Regions from separate parts of the Homo sapiens genome. Here region 2 is linked to region 1. Evidence: promoter capture Hi-C in 16 types of primary human blood cells and fetal thymus (Javierre and others, 2016). All regions are on one chromosome and are shown on one strand. The core of a region is centred on a gene start or on the middle of the fragment in contact, and the rest is flanking DNA. Distances in the headings are between cores, read along the strand shown. Region 1 holds the start of GPR135 (G protein-coupled receptor 135). Region 2 overlaps KIAA0586.

Evidence for each region. The method cuts DNA at HindIII sites, captures the fragments that hold promoters and counts their contacts. A CHiCAGO score of 5 or more calls a contact.
Region 2: a contact is called between a fragment that was not itself captured here and the fragment with the promoter of GPR135 in region 1, in 1 of 17 cell types (M0 macrophages). The highest score is 5.4, in M0 macrophages.

The regions. Positions count from the first base shown.
Region 1 is chr14:59,462,825-59,468,144 of GRCh38, reverse strand. It overlaps GPR135 (G protein-coupled receptor 135), which reads left to right and starts at 2,765. Exons shown (of 1, transcript NM_022571.6): 1 at 2,765-5,320. The coding sequence starts at 2,919. The coding sequence ends at 4,403. It also overlaps a transcript of L3HYPDH not described here. RefSeq lists a silencer at 2,695-3,234. The HindIII fragment of the contact is 8,985 bases long and covers 1,055-5,320 here.
Region 2 is chr14:58,489,096-58,492,002 of GRCh38, reverse strand. KIAA0586 reads right to left here. Exons shown (of 31, transcript NM_001329943.3): 25 at 1,763-1,839. Among named protein-coding and RNA genes, the nearest start is that of KIAA0586, 63 kb to the right of the region's middle. The HindIII fragment of the contact is 4,297 bases long and covers 1-2,907 here.

The DNA.
Region 1 (5,320 bases), core at 1,516-4,015:
AGTACCTGGGACTACAGGCACATGCCACTACACTGGCCTAATTAGAAGAGTTTAAATAAGTAAGTGGCATGAAGAATTTTTTTAAGAGCATTATGCCTAGCTGCCTACAATGTAGGAACTGGATGTGGGAAGACCGGTTAGGACAACAGTGACAACAGTAGTCCAAAGAGAGGATGAGAGCCAAGATTCAGGATGGAGGAGATGAATGGATGCAAAGATAGTCCGCAACTAAAATCCATAGGTCTTGGTTGATGAATTGGATGTGGACTGGTGGTAAGGAGGAGGGATTCATCAAGGAAAACTCTTAAGTTTTTGGCTTAAAAGCTAGAAGGATGGTTCTACCATATTCTGAGATACAGAGTATTGAAGACCAAGTTTTACCGGGGAAGTAGGAAGAAGATCATGCACCCATTTGATGTGCCACTGGCACATCAAGGAGAGAGATGCCAAGTAGCAGGACATGTAGGTTGGGGCCACAGACATAATTTGAGTAATGAATATATAGATTATCTTTGAAGTCCTGGATGTGAGTGAGATGGGGCCGAGGGGGGAGTCCAGAGGAGCTGAGAACAGGGCTTTGATGAACTCCAGCATGTAAAGGCAGGTGGAAGAGGATGAACTGGCAGAGGAGAGGACACTGAGAAAGATGAGGAAGGAAGGAAGCAGAAGAGTGCAGTCCTTCTGGTCCTTCTGAACCATGCACTTGCTCACGGCCCTCCCTTATGCTATTAGCCCCTCCTCCCCTGATGAAGTTCAGTCTCCAGAGCATGGCCTACAAGGCCCATCATAAGGTAGCCCCAATAAACTTTGATCATTTATTTCCTTCTTCACTCCCCATCTCCAATATCCTAGAATTCAGACACTGCTCACTTCAACACTAACCTCCAGACTTTGCACATTCATCAAATGTTCTTTCCCTTTCTTCTTTTTTTAAAAAGTCTAATGTCACCTCTTGTACAAAGTCTTTGTCAGGAAGACAAATAATTTCACTCACATATTTTTAAGACAATATTTAGCACACTGTAATATACTGTGTTGGCCGGTGGCTTAAGCTTATTTGGGCTGGGTTTCCTATCTTATATGTTGTTTCCTAAAACTAAGCACAATCTGAGAAGATTGTGTTTGCCAAATAAATTAATGTATGATAATTATATTTTTGCTTTGATTGACAAAATTAAGACAAAATCAGTCTAGATTAAGCTGGCATTGACTGCTCCCAAGAGGATATTTGGCAATATCTGAAGACAGTTTTAGTTGTCACAGCTGGGAGAGGTGCTACTGGCATCTCGTAGGTAGGAACTAGGGATGCTGCTGAACATCATACAATGTATAGATGGCCCCTGCAATAAAGAATTATCTGGCCCAAAAGTCCATGACGCTTAGGCTGACAAACCCAGTTTTGGTTTGCCACCTTAAACGTTCTTCTATTTATACTGTAAATTTCCTGTAGGATATTTTTTCTGAATGAAATAAGCACTCCAATACTAATACCATTGATTCTAAGATCTACAAATATACTAGTCATTCTTTAGAGCAGTGTTTCTCAAATTTGTGCATCAGAATCACTGGGAGGGCTTGTTAAAACATAGGTGCCTGGGCCCCACCACAGGAGTTTCAGTAGATCAGGGGTATCCTATGCACTGTAGGCCTGATAATTTGTATTTCTCAAGGTTTCCAGGGGATGTTGATGCTGCTGGTCCAATGTCCATACTCTGTGAACCACTGCTTTAGCGAAGAGCCCAGGGTTAGTTAACCTGAGGGTTTATCACACTTTTCCCCATTAGAGGCCATGCCCAGAAACTTGAGATGCAACTTCCCTGGGTAGCCCTGCCTTTCTTTTCCCCGTATCTCCCAGCCAGGTACCTGGAGCTGCATCTGTGGTGATTGCCAGGCTGGCAGCACCTTAGACTCAAAACATACCCCATTCCTGAGAACAGATGAAGGCTGCTAGCAGGGCAAGGCACCAATCCCTCTCCCCCCATTTATCAGCCAGTAGGGGCCTGAGGTCCAGGCCCTTGGAAATGAAGTAACATCTAAAGGAACTATCCTAGCTCCTCAGAGCACCTGTATCAGAATCACCTACGGGGTTTAGAGTCATGGGCCCATCCTTAGTAATTCTGTCAGCCTGGGAATCTGCATTTTATGAAACTCTTGACATCAGTGCTTCTGTAAGTGTGGTCCTGGGACCAGCATCATCATCACCACCCGCGAACCCGTTAGAGATACAAATTCTTGGGTACTTCCCCAGACATATTCGAAACGCTGGGGTTCAGACCTCGTCACTTGTATTTTAACACGCCCTCTATGTGAATTCTGTTAGCTCAAGTTTGAGAATTACTGGTTTAAATTAGTCTGCTTCTCAAGTTTAAGATGTCTGGATGTAGACTTCTGGATTTTTCTTTCACTTCACTTTCTAGATTCCTTTCCTACCTGTATATACCAAAAGCACCCACAGGAAGCAGAGTGCCCCCCCCACCACTCCCCAAAAGGCCTGCCTGTAGAACATTTGTACCCTACAAAAGAGAGCAAGAGTGAACTTTCGTTGAATCTGGTCATTTGTTTGCATGCCAGTCGGCACTTTATCTGGCCGGACATTGGTCCCTCAGGAGGTCGACCTGGCACTCTCGGAAACCCGAACACCCGGGCCGGTAACCTCCGGAGTGGCGGTGTCGCGGGTCGGCTTTGCAGCGGGTACTGGGCTGCCGTCCCGCCCCGCGCTCCTGCGTAAACACGCGGTTCCCTCGGCAACGCTGGAACCCACGTCAAAGGCTCCGCCAGGTCCCCAGCGACCGCCACCCCTCCGGCCGAGCCCAGCTCCCCGCGGCGGCCGCTAGCCCCCGGCCCCGAGCCACCACTCCGACCTAGCGGCCGCCGCCCCCGGTGCGGGATGAGGAGATCCGCGGCCGCCACTGGGCCCCATGGAGGAGCCGCAGCCGCCCCGCCCACCAGCGAGCATGGCCTTACTGGGCAGCCAGCACTCCGGCGCCCCCTCCGCGGCCGGCCCACCTGGCGGGACTTCCTCCGCGGCCACGGCGGCCGTGCTCTCCTTCAGCACCGTGGCGACCGCGGCGCTGGGGAACCTGAGCGACGCAAGCGGAGGCGGCACAGCTGCCGCTCCCGGTGGCGGCGGCCTTGGCGGGTCCGGGGCAGCGCGGGAGGCGGGGGCGGCGGTGAGGCGGCCGCTAGGCCCGGAGGCGGCGCCGCTGCTGTCGCACGGAGCTGCAGTGGCGGCCCAGGCGCTCGTCCTCCTGCTCATCTTCCTGCTGTCTAGCCTTGGCAACTGCGCGGTGATGGGGGTGATTGTGAAGCACCGGCAGCTCCGCACCGTCACCAACGCCTTCATCCTGTCGCTGTCCCTATCGGATCTGCTCACGGCGCTGCTCTGCCTGCCCGCCGCCTTCCTGGACCTCTTCACTCCGCCCGGGGGTTCGGCGCCTGCCGCCGCCGCGGGGCCCTGGCGCGGCTTCTGCGCCGCCAGCCGCTTCTTCAGCTCGTGCTTCGGCATCGTGTCCACGCTCAGCGTGGCGCTCATCTCGTTGGACCGTTACTGCGCTATCGTGCGGCCGCCGCGGGAGAAGATCGGCCGCCGCCGCGCGCTGCAGCTGCTGGCGGGCGCCTGGCTGACGGCCCTGGGCTTCTCCTTGCCCTGGGAGCTGCTCGGGGCGCCCCGGGAACTCGCGGCGGCGCAGAGCTTCCACGGCTGCCTCTACCGGACCTCCCCGGACCCCGCGCAGCTGGGCGCGGCCTTCAGCGTGGGGCTGGTGGTGGCCTGCTACCTGCTGCCCTTCCTGCTCATGTGCTTCTGCCACTACCACATCTGCAAGACGGTGCGCCTGTCGGACGTGCGCGTGCGGCCGGTGAACACCTACGCGCGCGTGCTGCGCTTCTTCAGCGAGGTGCGCACGGCCACCACCGTCCTCATCATGATCGTCTTCGTCATCTGCTGCTGGGGGCCCTACTGCTTCCTGGTGCTGCTGGCCGCCGCCCGGCAGGCCCAGACCATGCAGGCCCCCTCGCTCCTCAGCGTGGTGGCCGTCTGGCTGACCTGGGCCAATGGGGCCATCAACCCTGTCATCTACGCCATCCGCAATCCCAACATTTCGATGCTCCTAGGGCGCAACCGCGAGGAGGGCTACCGGACTAGGAATGTGGACGCTTTCCTGCCCAGCCAGGGCCCGGGTCTGCAAGCCAGAAGCCGCAGTCGCCTTCGAAACCGCTATGCCAACCGGCTGGGGGCCTGCAACAGGATGTCCTCTTCCAACCCGGCCAGCGGAGTGGCAGGGGACGTGGCCATGTGGGCCCGCAAAAATCCAGTTGTACTTTTCTGCCGAGAGGGACCACCAGAGCCGGTGACGGCAGTGACCAAACAGCCTAAATCCGAAGCTGGGGATACCAGCCTCTAAGACGGTTGGAATGGCCAGCTTATGAAGGCAAATTTCCACTCGCATTATTTAATGATGGAAGATTCTGGGGGAGAGTTGTGGATTTCATAAAGCCAAACATTTAAAGCTAGAGACGGGGGAGGCTTACCACTTTCCCCAAACAACATAAAAGACAATGTCCCTTCTTCAAAAGTGCCAAAAGGAATGTAAAATGCAAAAATTAAAACAATCTTAAACCACATAACCAAGCATTGTGAACTGTAAGTGCCAAAAATGACAAAAATAACATTCACTATAACTGAAAAGCTCATATTATAGGACCACACTGTGAAACAAACAAAACATTGAATGCAACCAGTATTGTTCAACTACACAGAATTTCAGGAATGAATGGAGACCTTCAGAGCTGCTTGAAAGCCCCTCTAAATCGCTACCATCCAACAAAACTTTAGCTTCTAGAGCTTGCACCTCTGACATGCTTTGGGTGCTTAGATTGCAAGTGGAAAAGTCTTATCCTTACACACATTGGTGCACCTCCTCACCCCACCCCCTAATAACCTTTGTGGAAAATTTTTAATTCATAACCCATTTAAAATCATTTTAGGATTTTGAAAAGCTGGTTATTATTAGATAAAATTCAACCATCTGAAGGACAAATAGAAGTATGAACATAAAGAAATGTGTCTTTTAAATGTTTTCCAAGATTATATGTAAAAATTAACATTCCTTCCACCCGCGTCATACCTCCAAAATGATCTTCCTTGGAAAACTTTGAAGTTTTATCCTTACTCTAACCTGTTACTTTTATTTCTGATAAATTTTGGAATGCTGCTCTCAGAATGCTTTCACATTTAAAAAAATATTTTCATTGTAGAAAATTTTTGTCTTTTGAGGTAAATTTGATTTTTGGATATAGCCAAAAATGTAATTTGAAGTCA
Region 2 (2,907 bases), core at 408-2,907, 980 kb after region 1:
ATCTAGTTCTCATTTCCATTTGTCTATAATAAAAGCCCTCTATCTTTGCCTCAAATATAAACCACAGTATAATTTGGTACAACATAAACTGGAGATTATAAAAACATAAAAATCAAACAGTCTGTCCCACACAGTTGAGCTACTATGAATCATAAATGTTTTATATGATATCATTGTTTTTGGGTCACAGCCTCCTCCTCATATTTCTGCAGTAAAGTAATGCCACAGTGTGGCAATGGGGGCAAAGCACTGTAATGCTGCAACTTGGACCACAAGCAAAAATGAAAAACTGCAGAAGTATGGTATGGCAGCTATAGACCTCAATGTCCCTTTGCCTTTGGGCTGACATCTGGCTTACTTGGCGAGGGCATTGGTATTGAAGACCCTCACTGGAGCACCCTGTATAGGCTTCCTCATGCCTCAAAATAGGCCCATCCCAACAATGAGGAACAGTGTGGGCCTCAGAGTCCAACAAAGTAGATTATCTTGTAAATACAGATATTAACATGACTTTAAATTCATTGAAAGTATTTGTATTTATTTTTCATGAAATAAAGTTTATTAACTCCAGATTATAAGTCCCTATCCCCTAGCTATGTATAGATAAAATGCCCACTGGTACATGATTTCAAGTTATTTGGGGTTTTTCCAGATTGTACTATTGTATTTGACTTTATTATGAATTTGTAGCATATGTGATTTAGGCATAGTAAAAATATCAACATTAGAATTTAGTTTCAAATGTAGAAAAAGAGAAACAAGTTATAATTTAGTCTTGGTTTGGTTTAGCTATTTACTTTAAATAAATTTAAACATGCTTTGCCACTTGAAAAAGTTCAAAGAGAGGAGAAAAATGCTATAATTGTACACTAATAGGCCGAATGTTAGTAATGCTTCTCTGAAAATAAAGATATCTCATTTATGCCTTCTTCCCATATTATTTCATAAAAGTGATTGCTATGCTCTCTTCACAATTAGCTCAACCAATTACTTGCAATAAATAATTACTGTTTAAAAATTGTTTCATTAAAATCTTATCAAAAAACTTCTTAATGAAGTATTTTCATAGGCCTATGTGAAATAACTTAAAAAAACAGCAACAATGCTTTAAAAAGATGTGAATAAACATAGATGATAGTTGAGTACAATTACCTTTCCTTGCTTAGGTTGTTTAAAAATATATAAAAAGTAAAGATTTCTATTCCTTAACGGTTTTTTCAAAAGAAAATTCTTACTATCACTTCTATATATTTATATATAATGTGATATTTTTAAATACCAACTTTTGCTTCTACAGAGCTAGATAAAAACTAGAAAGGGTTAACATCCCTGGACCTCATTTTTCTTTTTAAGCCATTAAGTTTAAATATTTATTAGCACAAAGAATTATAATCATGGTTAGGGAAAAATAACAAATGTATTACAAGAGAGTTGGTTTAAACAGGTAAGATCCTGCTTAAATATTGTAAAGACAACATACAGAGGTAACAATTTGCAATCAGCTAGATTTCATTACCTAATTACATTAAATGTATATTTTTTTACTACTAGAGCCACGAGGGTTAATAATAACTTTTTTTCATTCTCATAATTATAAGATTACATAATGAAATGTGCAAGAAACTCTAAATTATTTCATGGTTATTTTACTAAATTTTGTGTCTATAACTCAAAAAATTGAGAAAAAACCTGATCAGTGGCAACCAATTCATACAGATATTCTTCCTGTCAGAATTCAGTGTTGGAGTCAATCGTTACTTACCATTTCAACGGCATCATGCAGAGTGCTGGATAAGCTATCATTAAGGTTTGTCAGGTACAGTCCTATATCTTCTAAAACTAGAAATTAAAATATAAAAGTTTAGAAAAAAAAAAGAAACACAAACTTAGTAAATAATCTGACCATAAAGCCATAGCATATTAGATTCAAAATTATACTGCAATGGAAATACTGGCAAAGTTTATAAACAAGTAATTCACAAACTACTCAATCTTACCAGTTTTTTTGAAGTACAATTTATAACAAAGATGAGAATTTTGTTTAACCTACCAGTTTGTTAGAAATTAAAAACTATAAATATCAATTGTAGTTATGAAATTGAGAAACGGGTATTCTCATATACTGTTGATATAATTAAAACTGATTAAGAGCTAAAAATCCTTTCTAGAACTTAGAGCAAAGAAAAAAAAAATCCTTTCTAGAAAGCATGTTGGTGATGCATCTTTAAAGTAGACTCAGCAATTTCGCTTTTAGGCATGTATTCTAAGGAAGAGACCAGATAAGTGCACAAAGACATATATACATGAAAGGATGGTAATTAGAGAGTTGTGTATAGACTGAAAGCATTGAAAACAATCTAAATGCCCTCTATTAAGGGATTAAACAGACTACACAGCCAGAAAAGAAAAATAAGAAAAATATGGAGTTATATTAAAAGATATCCACAATATATTATTTGGTAAAAAAAAAAATTCAGGTTTCAGGCTGGGTGAGGTGGTTCAGGCCTATAATCCCAGCCCTTTGGGAGGCCAAGACGGGTGGATCACTTGAGCTCAGAAGTCTGAGACCAACCTGGGCAAAATGGTGAAACTTCATCTCTACAAAAAATATAAAAGTTAGCCGGGCGTGGTGGCACATGCCTGTAGTCCCAGTTACTCAGAAGGCTGAGGTGGGAGTATCACTTGAGCCCAGGAAGTTGAGGCTGCAGTGAACCATGATCATGCCACCTCACTCTAGCTTGCATGACAGTGAGAACCTGTCTCAAAAAAAAAAAAAAAATTCAGGTTTCAAAACAATATGCATAGTAAGATCCTATTTTTAAAGGTAAACATACATCCACATACGTATGTATTTATGTGTCTATATATGCATAGACAAAAAAGACTGGAAAGGCCTACCCCAAACCA